4 separate regions of the Homo sapiens genome follow, and regions 2, 3 and 4 are each linked to region 1. Evidence: promoter capture Hi-C in human tissues and cell types (Jung and others, 2019). All regions are on one chromosome and are shown on one strand. Each heading gives the region's core, a stretch centred on a gene start or on the middle of the fragment in contact. The rest is flanking DNA. Distances are from core to core; before and after follow the strand shown. Region 1 holds the start of SDC2 (syndecan 2). Region 2 overlaps CPQ (carboxypeptidase Q). Region 3 overlaps CPQ (carboxypeptidase Q). Region 4 overlaps CPQ (carboxypeptidase Q).

What was found. Contacts are between HindIII fragments. The study calls those that stand out against the background at their distance.
Region 2: a fragment that was not itself captured here is called in contact with the fragment with the promoter of SDC2 in region 1 in 1 of the 25 tissues and cell types used here (spleen).
Region 3: a contact is called between a fragment that was not itself captured here and the fragment with the promoter of SDC2 in region 1, in 1 of the 25 tissues and cell types used here (spleen).
Region 4: a fragment that was not itself captured here is called in contact with the fragment with the promoter of SDC2 in region 1 in 2 of the 25 tissues and cell types used here (dorsolateral prefrontal cortex and mesenchymal stem cells).

What each region holds. Positions count from the first base shown.
Region 1 is chr8:96,492,183-96,495,204 of GRCh38, reverse strand. It overlaps SDC2 (syndecan 2), which reads right to left and starts at 1,392. Exons shown (of 5, transcript NM_002998.4): 1 at 874-1,392. The coding sequence starts at 933. The HindIII fragment of the contact is 18,592 bases long and covers 1-3,022 here.
Region 2 is chr8:97,074,240-97,077,261 of GRCh38, reverse strand. All of the region lies in intron 7 of CPQ (carboxypeptidase Q), which reads right to left. The region is part of intron 2 of LOC101927066 (a long non-coding RNA gene); the gene reads left to right. Among named protein-coding and RNA genes, the nearest start is that of TSPYL5, 200 kb to the left of the region's middle. The HindIII fragment of the contact is 6,919 bases long and covers 1-3,022 here.
Region 3 is chr8:97,043,820-97,046,841 of GRCh38, reverse strand. All of the region lies in intron 6 of CPQ (carboxypeptidase Q), which reads right to left. The region is part of intron 2 of LOC101927066 (a long non-coding RNA gene); the gene reads left to right. Among named protein-coding and RNA genes, the nearest start is that of TSPYL5, 230 kb to the left of the region's middle. The HindIII fragment of the contact is 9,868 bases long and covers 1-3,022 here.
Region 4 is chr8:97,006,043-97,009,064 of GRCh38, reverse strand. The region is part of intron 5 of CPQ (carboxypeptidase Q); the gene reads right to left. The region is part of intron 2 of LOC101927066 (a long non-coding RNA gene); the gene reads left to right. Among named protein-coding and RNA genes, the nearest start is that of TSPYL5, 270 kb to the left of the region's middle. The HindIII fragment of the contact is 9,233 bases long and covers 1-3,022 here.

The DNA of each region.
Region 1 (3,022 bases), core at 143-2,642:
GTGGCGGGAGGGAAGCCTCTGTCCCCCAGCGGCCAGGCGACCCGAAGCCGAGCGCCGTGTCACACGTACCCCGCCTCGCCCTGCTTGCGGCACTCCCGTGTAACTCCTATGAAAATGTCCTCCCGTCCCTGACGCCCCGCGGTGCAACCTCCACCCCTCAACGAGGAGGGGGTCGCCGCAGGACTGGGAATCCAGTGGCCGGCGTCCCAGCATTTTCGGACGCGTTCCGTGCCTCCCCCAGTATCCCCTTGAGGGATCGCCTACTGCGATTCCACGTAGTGTCGGTTACCTCGCCCTAGCCGCAGGGAGCATCAAACAAAAGAACTTTTGCAAACTTTTCTCTCTGGACACTCGCGGGTCTCTTAAATCTGGCCCCCATCTCCCCAGAACTTGCATGCAGTCAAACAGGAAAGCTGGCGCGGGGGGGATGGTGTGCGGAGGAAGGGACCCCGAAGTTTCCAGGTCATCCCTGGTCTCGAGGAGCGCGCGGAGTGGAGCCGTTCCCTCGCGGGCCCGACCCAGGCTCCCCCCTCCTGCCACCCTTTCCCCTCCGTCCTTCCCAGACCACGCAGCAAGACCCGCCGAGGGCGAAGAAGTTGGGAGTGACTTCAGGGGCCTCTGCGGCTAGACCAAACCGCAATTCTCGGTGCCCCCATTCCCGCGGACCGCGGGGTAACGCCAGCGAGCAGCGCTTTTCTGAGGAAGGGAAGAGGGGGAAAGGGTGACCGGACGAGCGCATTTGTCCCAGCGGATCTCCGGTGTATACTTGGGGACTGGGGGTTCCCCAGGTGGCGCTCCCCTATTCCCTGCGGGCTCCTCTCGTAGCTTCAAACACCCTAAACGGCGCGCGCATCCTCCGCCTGGCCCACTCACCGACTCCGCCGACACGCAGGCCACCAAGCCCAAGGTGAGCAGGATCCACGCGCGCCGCATATTCCCCAGGGACCGGCTGCTCCCAGCCGCTGCTTGCAACCAGGGCAAAACGAAGCCTCCTGCCCAGCGCTCGGCGCAGCCCGCGCACACGAATCCGGAGCAGAGTACCGCAGCGATTGCGGCTCAGGCTCGGGGACTCGGGCTCGGGGCTCGGGGGCGCTCGCTTCCTCCTCCTGCGCCTGCTCCCGCCGCCCGCAGCTGCGCCCCGGGAACGCGGCGCCCTCTCACTTGTTGGTTTCTGCACTCCCGACACGGAGTTGGTGCTCCGGGAAGGCTGCTCTCTGAAGCTCTTCTTGCTCTGCTGTGGTTTTGCTCCTCCGCGGACTCCTTTCCCGTGCCGAGGTTCAGTTTCTGGTTTTAAGGAATAAATTCGCTGGCTTGAAAGGGAGCTACGGCAGAAGTTTAGGGGCAGAGCGGCGGGAGCGCGCGATCCGCGCGGCTGGAGCTCCGGGGGTATCTGGAGAGCAGCGCGTCCAAGCGGGGCCACTGGCTCCGCGGCTGCGCCCCTCCTCCTCCCGCGCCGCGCCTCCCTCCCCGGGTCCTCCTCCTTCTCCTCCTCTTCTTTTCCTCTGGCTCCCTCCCTCCTGAGCCTGCTTCTCCGGGCTCCCCTGGGCGACTGGGGAGAGGAGGCGGCAGTGTGACTCCCAGATAAACCCGGGAGAAATTCCTACAGGATTACACGCCGATTGGCAGCTCCGAGGACCAGTGGGCGCCGCGGCTCCGCGCTGTGGCTGCGCCGGCTCTGCTCACCGGCAAGCCAGGGCTCCTGCGTTTTCTCAGTCCTTTTCTTCCTTTCTCTCCCCACTTTTCCTCTCTCCTCTATGCTCTTTTCTTCCCCGTTGTCTTTTCTCTTTCCCTTCTTCACTTTCCCTTTTCTAGAGAACAATTAGTGAAGAAACGAGAGACGTATGTAGCTTTTCTGCCTTGAGAATTCGACCAGTAGAAAGAAACTGCTTTGTGAGTTGAGGGAAAAAAAAAGTGTAAGATGCTTTCAAGCAATGTGAAGTGTTCATAAATCGCCAGTTCATGAAAATTGCATTTTAAAAGAGAAGATAATTAATGTAATAAATATATAGTGAGAGTGTTTCCCATTCTCCCAAATCCTTCCGCACCCCCAAAAAAGGGACATGGAGGAAGGATCCTGTAAACCCAAAGTGCAACAGTTTGAAAGCTCCTAACTTCATTAAGGGCTTAAATACCATTTCTCCCTCACACACAGTTTATGCCACTAAGGCTTTTTATAGGCTCCATTTTAGCAGATAGGTGTTAACGTTTGGAAGCTACAAATAGGGTAATTTGATGAGAAGTTGGATAGAGACCCTGAATAATAACAGATTTAAGATAACTTCAAAGAAAAGAGGGATAAAGTAATTCTTAGTTTGAAGAAAATAATGAACATGTATTTCCTAAATGGAAGTAGCTGACATGAAATATTTTGTTACAATGTCTGTGGCATATTATAGAACATGGCAAATGCGTATTCCCTTCCAGTTTCTTTTTCTTACTGTCACAAATTTTACACACAAATCCCTTGCAGTTCGTGCCATCATTTTTCTCTCTGACTTATAGAGTAAATGAATTATGACGCCATTCTGCTCCTGGAATGCCCACTACAGGAAACCAGAGACTTTTCTGTCTGTTCACCATTGTATTCTCATTCCTGGTACATAAAGACACATGATAAATATTATCTTGAATAAATTTTGCTCTAAAGCTCAATTTATACCGTATAAGAGTTGTGAGCCTTTAAAATACACCAATGTAGATATATAGATATGAGGCCATGGTAATTTTTCAACTCAGTATTAGAATAAAATACAGTCATACCCTCAGTGAGAATTAAATGTCTTAGTAACCTATTACTGTAATAAATCTCAAAGAAAGAAATTTAACTGGAGAATTACAACTCAAACTTGGAGACACTTATTCCTTTGGTTTTGTGTGCCAGCTACCAAACCTACAAATGCTCATGAGCAAGTCTAAGGCATTGGCCAACAAAAAGGTAATATGGAGAAATAGAAGAGTAGGCAAAGGAGAAAGAAGAAAAAGAGCAATAGGCCAGAAGTTGTAACATCAGATGATGCTTCTG
Region 2 (3,022 bases), core at 313-2,812, 580 kb before region 1:
TAGACCTTGACTAACACCATAGGACTCATACAATGTGCAACTAGTGATGTTGGAAGTGCTCCCAAGAAGCAGGGAAAAGTCGTGACTTTACAAGAAAAAGTTGAATTGCTTGATATGTACCACAGATTGAGGTGTGCCACCGTGGTTGCCATTTCAGAAAATTCATCTTGTAAACAGATGGTATTGATAAATAGAGTACGGTACTATAAATGTATCTCTTCCTTATGCTTTTCTTAACAGTTTTCTCTTCTCTAGCTTACTTTATTATAAGAATACAGTATATAATACATTTACAAAATATGTGTTAATTGACTATGTTATCATAAAGACTTCTGATCAACAGTAGCTCATTAGTAGTTAAGTTTTTGGGGAGTCAAAAGTTATATGCAGATTTTTGTGTGCAGGGCTCAGCACCCCTAAACTCCCTGTTGTTCAAGGGTCAACTTCAAATGTATCTAGGCTGCTAATGTCATAAAAAGGGAGATAATTAGACATTATGCCTATGAAAACAAGCAGCAACATCTAGAAAGCATTTTAGCCCACTCCCTCTCCCCCGCTAAAAAAAATCAAACTTAGGGCAAGCCTCTAGATTTAACTCAATCCACAGGAAATACAAGGGATAGGGGAACATGACAAATGATGCCGTGGAAATGGAGTTAGGACAAATACTTGGCATCTGTAACACATAAGTGGTAAGAAGAAAAAAGATGGAAGTAGAACCTACAGATTACAAGAAACTTGGGATATATCAGCCAACTGCATTGTTTGAACCTTATTGGAATCCTGGTTTACATTAGAAAACTATTTTTAAAGAAGTATGAAGACAATTGGGAATATTTGAAAACTGGCCATATATTGGATATGATATTAAGAAATCACTGTAAAATATTTTAGGTAGAATAATAGTATTGTAGTTATATAAATAAAAATGAGTCCTTGGCAGGGCTCAGTGGCTCATGACTGTAATCCCAGCACTTTGGGAGGCTGAGGCAGGAGGATCACGACGTCAGGTGTTCGAGACCAGCCTGACCAACATGGTAAAACCCCATCTCTACTAAAAATACAAAAATTAGCCTGGCATGGTGGTGTGTGCCTGTAATCCCACGTACTCAGGAGGCTGAGGCAGGAGGATCACTTGAACCCGGGAGGCGGAGGTTGCAGTGAGCTGAGATCGTGCTACTGCACTCCAGCCTGAGCAACAGAGCAAGATTCCATCTCAAAAAACAAAAAACAAACAAACAAACAACAAAAACAAAAACAAATAAAACCAAGTCCTTACCTTTTAGAAATACAAATTAAAATATTTATAAATGAAATGATGTGATTTTGGAGATCTGCTTCAAAATAAACTGGGTGTAGGAGAGTAGCTGCTGTGTGGCTGAAATAGGACTGACCATGAGTGAAAAACTCCTTAAGCTGAGTGGTGGGTGCATGGGGGTTCATGATATTATTTTAGTTTTGTATACATTTGAAAGTTTTGGTAATAGCATTTTTAAAAAATCACACTTTAAAATCACTTCATATATTAAAACAAGTCAAAATAAATTCTACATTTCCTAATTATTTAAAGCAGAGAGAGAAAAATCTCACATGGCTGACAAGGAGAAAACATATTTTGAAATCCTTCTTCTTTATACTCCACTGGCTTTTCAAGTAATTTTAGATATTTTTCTTAGAAATTTTAATGTAGCTTTATTTAGTTTTCTGTGATGAAGTCTTTATTCTTATCTTCACGATTATTAAGCTAACCAAAATCAGTTTTCAATTGTGAGCTCCAGGAGAGAAGGGTCCATATCTCATTTTTGTATCCTCCATAATTTATATACACTGTAGCTACCCATTGATTAAAGTGTAACATAAGAAATAAATTAGAGAACTTGTAAAGTGAAATGGATGGAAAGTCCTATGGATAAGAAGGGGAACTCAGAAGAGCTAATCTTGAGACCCTAAAAGGGGAAGATAGAAAAGGAAAACTTTTCTAGGCTATGTCATTAGAAGGCACGGAAAATGGTACAGAGACTTAAGTAATAGTGTTTTATGGGTCATTATAGTACATACAATGGAGCAACATCATAATGTCATTATCTGATTTTCTAAAGCAATTGTTTTCAACCCTTTGCTACTTCCTCAAGCTCCTCGTTCCCTTTAAGTGTTCTTACTTTGAGCCTTCTACTTGAGTGTGACCTGGATGCTCTAGGCATGCACAAGCTTTAGGGATTTACATTCTAAAACACTGCTTTGATTAATCCCTCTCCTTGTAAAGCGTTCCGGTATCTTCGCATCAGCTATGAGAGTTTTCACCTGACATTTATGACTCTTTTTCATCTGGCCTAGAGGTACTCACCTATTCTCATTGCCCACTGCCCTGCAAGATGAATTAGGAAAGTGGTGTCACTTTCCTTTCCGGCCCCACAGGGACACCTGCCTTTTTCATATTATTATCTCATCAGGAATGTCCTTCTCTACCCTCTTCTGTCCATTCTTTTTTTTGAGACAGAGTCTCACTCTTGTCACCCAGGCTGTAGTGCAGTGGCACAATCTTGGCTCACTGCAACCTCTGCCTCCCGGATTCAAGCGATTCTCCTGCCTCAGCCTCCCGGGTAGCTAGGATTACAGGCACCCGCTACTACATCTGGCTAATTTTGTATTTTTAGTAGAGAGGGGGTTTCACCATGTTGGTCAGGCTGGTCTTGAACTCCTGACCTCAGGTGATCTGCCTGCCTTAGCCTCCCAAAGTCCTGGGATTACAGGCGTGGGCCACCGTGCCTGGCCTGTCCATTCTTATACTACATATCTTTCAATGTCCAGCTCAAGCTCCTCTCTTCCACGTCTTTCTTGTCTTCTGACCTATGTGCCCCTGCAGTTATTCTGCATGTGTTATTTATCTTGGTACTATACCAAAAACTTCCTTTTATTGTTCCTTAGCTTATTTTCATCTTTAAATCAATACATCTAATCAGTAAACATTTACTGGATACATTTTATATGCCAAGTAATAATGGGTGTCGTGGGTATATGAACA
Region 3 (3,022 bases), core at 209-2,708, 550 kb before region 1:
TGCCTCTCATTTGGCTCTGTGAGTTATAATAAAGTATTTTCCAGAGCTTTGGAGGGGAAAAAACACTGCCAGCTATGGCAGTGAGGGCAGGTGGATGCTGTACGTTCTTCCAGCCCTCAGTTACTACCTGGAGAGTTGCCTGAAACACATTTACAAATATGGCACTGCCTCTGATTTCACAGGGGAGGGAGTGCATCTGATTGGATGAGTTTTATTAAATGAAACTATAGGAATCCATAAAAGCAAATTACACTCCCGTTTTAACTAGTAACAGAAATTCTGTTTAATCTTAAATAAATCATATGATGAAACCACTTTAAACCTTTGTTGAAAGGCCTTGTTAAGCTCCCTAAATTTGAATTGTTGTTTATACATGTTTTGCTGTGTGGGGTATAAAAGCTCTTTGGAAATGGATTTTGAGAAACTCTCCTTTAAGACAACCCTGAAACCAAAACAGTTTAGACAAAACTGCTGGTTGCTAGGGGCAACCTCAGCTTCTAGAATGAATAATTACAAATGTAGGACAAGCATTTGATGAGAGTACACGAGAGAGGTCTTCTGGAAAAAAAAAAAAGGAATAGAAGTTCCGATCTGCTTAGGAAAAAAAAAAGTATGCCTTTGTGTTTTTTACACACATAAGTGAGTCAGCAGAAAATACAGATGTGACCCAATTGATAAGGAAATCAGAAAGCTAGACCGAGACCAGCCTCTCAGGGCACACATGGTATCTTTAAGACACCACAGGATTTGGTTAATATACTCAGGAATGATCAAGTAAGATGAGTAGCAGAAAGAAAGACAAAAGTGCTCACTTTGCACTCACAACAATGTCTAACAATTCTGGGGCTCAGTTCCCTGCCTGATCTTCAGCCCTTAAAGTAACATAGTTTGGGTATTGCCCATCCTGGCTTCTGGATACTGCGTCTCAAAGTACAAAGTGGATGTGCCAGCGAGGAGCTGCTTTCTGGCATTGGCTTTATGAACAGCCCTGCCAGTACTTCTGCTCGTGCACTCCTCAAGCTGTCTTAGAGAGACCACTCTTTGATGTTTACGTGTTAGTGTCGTGGAAGCACAGAAAATCACAGTAACCAGAAGTAGAAGATGAACTTCCAGAAGGGCTACTGAATACCCAAAGACCTAATGATCTTTGGGTCACTTGGGAAGAGCCTCTCTCCCAGAAAATAATTCAGGTTTAAAAAAGAAATACTGAGCCAAGATGGCTGAATAGGAACAGCTCTGGTCTACAGCTCCCAGCATGAGCGACGCAGAAGACAGGTGATTTCTGCATTTCCATCTGAGGTACCAGGTTCATCTCACTAGGGAGTGCCAGACAGTGGGCGCAGGACAGTGGGTGCAGTGCGTCGTGCGCGAGCTGAAGGAGGGCGAGGCATTGCCTCACTCGGGAAGCACAAGGGGTCAGGGAGTTCCCTTTCCTAGTCAAAGAAAGGGGTGACAGACGGCACCTGGAAAATCGGGTCACTCCCACTCTAATGCTGCGCTTTTCCGACGGGCTTAAAAAATGGCGCACCAGGAGATTATATCCCGCACATGGCTTGGAAGGTACTATGCCCACGGAGTCTCACTGATTGCTAGCACAGCAGTCTGAGATCAAACTGCAAGGCGGCAGCGAGGCTGGGGGAGGGGCGCCCACCATTGCCCAGGCTTGCTTAGGTAAAAAAAGCAGCCGGGAAGCTCGAACTGGGTGGAGCCCACCACAGCTCAAGGAGCCCTGCCTGCCTCTGTAGGCTCCACCTCTGGGGGCAGGGCACAGACAAACAAAAAGACAGCAGTAACCTCTGCAGACTTAAATGTCCCTGTCTGACAGCTTTGAAGAGAGCAGTGGTTCTCCCAGCACGCAGCTGGAGATCTGAGAATGGGCAGACTGCCTCCTCAAGTGGGTCCCTGACCCCTGACCCCCCAGCAGCCTAACTGGGAGGCACCCCCCAGTAGGGGCAGACTGACACCTCACACAGCCGGGTACTCCTCTGAGACAAAAATTCCAGAGGAAGGATCAGACAGCAGCATTCGCAGTTCACGAAAATCCGCTGTTCTGCAGCCACCGCTGCTGATACCCAGGCAAACAGGGTCGGGAGTGGACCTCTAGCAAACTCCAACAGACCTGCAGCTGAGGGTCCTGTCTGTTAGAAGGAAAACTAACAAACAGAAAGGACATCCACACCAAAAACCCATCTGTACATCACCATCATCAAAGAACAAAAGTAGATAAAACCACAAAGATGGGGAAAAAACAGAGCAGAAAAACTGGAAACTCTAAAAAGCAAAGCACCTCTCGTCCTCCAAAGGAAGGCAGTTCCTCACCAGCAACGGAACAAAGCTGGATGGAGAATGACTTTGACAAGTTGAGAGAAGAAGGCTTCAGACAATCAAACTACTCCGAGCTACAGGAGGAAATTCAAACCAAAGGCAAAGAAGCTAAAAACTTTGAAAAAAATTTAGACGAATGTATAACTAGAATGACCAATACAGAGAAGTGCTTAAAGGAGCTGATGGAGCTGAAAGCCAAGGCTCAAGAACTACGTGAAGAATGCAGAAGCCTCAGGAGCCGATGCAATCAACTGGAAGAAAGGGTATCAGTGATGGAAGATGAAATGAATGAAATGAAGCGAGAAGGGATTTTTAGAGAAAAAAGAATAAAAAGAAACAAACAAAGCCTCCAAGAAATAGGGGACTATGTGAAAAGACCAAATCTACGTCTGATTGGTGTACCTGAAAGTGACAGGCAGAATGGAACCAAGTTGGAAAACACTCTGCAGGATATTATCCAGGAGAACTTCCCCAATCTAGCAAGGCAGGCCAACATTCAGATTCAGGAAATATAGAGAACGCCACAAAGATACTCCTTGAGAAGAGCAACTCCAAGACATATAATTGTCAAATTCACCAAAGTTGAAATGAAGGAAAAAATGTTAAGGGCAGCCAGAGAGAAAGGTCGGGTTACCCACAAAGGGAAGCCCATAAGACTAACAGCGGATCTCTCGGCAGAAACTCTACAAGCCAGAAG
Region 4 (3,022 bases), core at 342-2,841, 510 kb before region 1:
GATGGGATCCAAAGCCAGGGGGCACAGACAGGGTGGCCCATGGCCAAAACTTCAGCCAACCAGGTCAGCAAGTGAAGAAACAATTATGTGAGCAGCAGACACAAATACAAGCTAGACAGACTACCATGGTGTCATGCTGACCTTGACATGGACAGGAGAACATTAACTAAAGGGCAAAGACGTTTTTCTTTGTATAAAGAAAGCTGGCATTTATGGAGTCCCTATCCTGTGCCAGGCAATATGCTAAACACTTTATGTGCATTAGTTCCTTTACTTTTTGAACCTCACAGTAACACAGGATGCAGGTACTAGTACTTTTCCTGTTGTATGGATCAGGAAGCTGAGGCTTAGAGAGGTTAAGCAACTCACTTATGGTCACATATATAATAATGGGCAGAAACAGGACTTAAAGCCAGGTTCTCCTGATAGCAAAGCTCACAGCTTAAGCCTCCATTGTACACGTGGATTCCCTCAGTGTGCCCAGTAGACTGGGGATGACTTCCTTGGGGATTAGTCCTATGAGAACCTGGCATGGATGAAGGTGACAACAACACAAGGCTCCAATAAGGAAAATACACCCTAGGCCAGTCACAAAACTGAAAAAAATGAGAAACCCAGTCTAAGAGAAGAGCTATTCTTTTGGCACTGGGTTCACCCTGGCTACAAGTCAAAGGTACATTTGTTCACATTTGTATAAACAGACATCCTAAAATGTCCAGGCATAAATTGACACATTATTACAGAGAATACTGAGCCATCAATTCCAGCTTCCCAGCTCTCCTTGGCTTGATTCACCACCATGTTGCTTAAATCTATTTCTGTGTACTGAGGGTTTAATAGCACAAAGCATCAAATTTTTCTGAGCAAATAATTCTGTCTTTAAATTCTTCAAGTGATAACTGATATTAAATGGATTTTTTTTTTTAAATAAAGAGGTCAGGTCATGTCCTCAAGCCTTGACTTCACAACAGACCCAAACAAGAGGCGATAGTTCAGGAAGCCACCATCCCAGCACACATAATGTTCAAGGGCTCTGTACAGTAAGCATGTTGATTTATTCATTTTTGAGCCTTGAACCTGGGGAGTACTTTGAGTCAACTACTTAATCTAATCTTAGCAGATGATTTTACTGTCCAGTATTAAATAATTATACCGCAGTGAGTTTGTTTCCTAACAGACTATAGCATTAAATGTTAAATAAATAAGATTTATCCCAGTGTTCTGCAGCCCACTTCCTTACTTCATCCCCCTGAAGTTCCCAAATAAGAAAAACATTTCGTCCTTTATTATGAGCAATAACAATTTCTCCTCTCATCTAGAAATGCATGCTATTGCCCAGAATAAAGTTTTATTTCAAGAATTAGATCACCATATACACTAAAGCATAACTGTGTTCTGGCTGCCTGTGTTTTCCTGGGTGAAATCACAATCCACTTTGAAAATTTACACACATTTGTCATTTTAGAAATAGTTCTTTGCTTTGGCTTTTGAGTAAGTAAGGAATTTTTCTAAGGACAGTGTCAAATAGCCCTGTGATTACTCCCATTTTGGTGTGCAAATCATTATCTTCCATTAACAGGCTACAGACACTGTCAGTTTTGAAAACAGACACTTTATAGAAACTAAAATATGAGTCAGGAGGGAAGCAAGTTCTTAGTGGCATTTGCATGTTATTTTATTCTAGGCATTTCTGCAGGGTTGGCCTGCTTTGATAGGCTCCTAGGGGCATCGTGGGAGGACACTAGAACTCAAAGATAAAGATCTAACTGAAAAGCACAGCTTCTGTTAAAACAATTTGATGCCAAAAATTAAGCCACACAGAAAACTGTTGTGTAAAATTCCAAATGAAATAGAGGAGTATGTCTCCCTTAATAGACACTCCTCTCATTCCAGAATGCTGTTAAAGATGTCGGTATATTGGAGACCTGCTTAGAGTTCTGCAGAAGAAACTTCAAACAAACAAACTTTTGGAGAAGGCAAGACTGGGAACAGTAGTGTGCTTTTTAATGACTGAGGCTGAATATGCTTTCCTCTGGTTTTCTTTTATGTTTCTTCATAAAGCATTCTTCATGCTTTCCTGCTATTTTGCAGTGCCTATTTTTTCCTAATATACTTGGGTTGCCAAACCAAAAAAGAATCTCTGCCCTCATGTACTCCATTTAGTTGAAAGACGAGTTTCAACTCTTCCATGCAGGAGAATGAGCCAGCAACCTGCCACAGAAGTCAAGTAACAAAAGGCCCCCTTCAGAGGCTGTCAATTTCCAGCCCCCGATGTTCTGTGACCAGATAAGTCGGTTCCTGGTGCACCTGGGTCCTCCTGGGTTGCCAGCAAGGGTTGTCAGCATAACATATCAGGGAACCAGCCACTGTATTTACATTTTAATAAGTATTTTGTTTTCCTTACTTTTTCTTGTTTGTTCCCAGGGGTTCTAAGAAAGGGAAAGACAGTAATAACCAATTCATATAGGACAGAATCAGCTACGTTTGGCTGATTTGCAATTTGGACTAAGAAATCAAAGCTGGAATTTTTCATATAGGTCAAATATTTAGAAGGCTACAAATGTGATTTGCATAGGTTTTATTTCCCTTGCACTTCTTTGTATACTAAGTAATTCCCCCTGTCCTGTCGACTGACTATAAAAGGTGAAGTGGTATAACAGACCTGTATGAGAGTGCCTGCTGGATTCAAGCCCCTGACACCCTTTTTTGGGTCGGGTTTGTATAAATCTAAGAAATGGCAGGACATAGACACGGGAAGAGACTTAAAAAAAAACAACTCAACTTTCAGATTCTTTCACCACATCTCAATCACACCTCTATTCCTCTTAGGCAGTGTAACAGTCTTCTCAGTTTCAAAACTGTTTTCACCCTTTTATTGAAATTCTGAGAGCCTTATTCTACAAGAGCAAATAACCCCACAAAAAAACCACAGGTCCAAGGACTTCATTTCAGTCAGCAGACTCGCTGGCTGAAACTGTATGGTCTCTGTTAGCAGCACTGTCTGCCTTGCTTAAATTGCTTC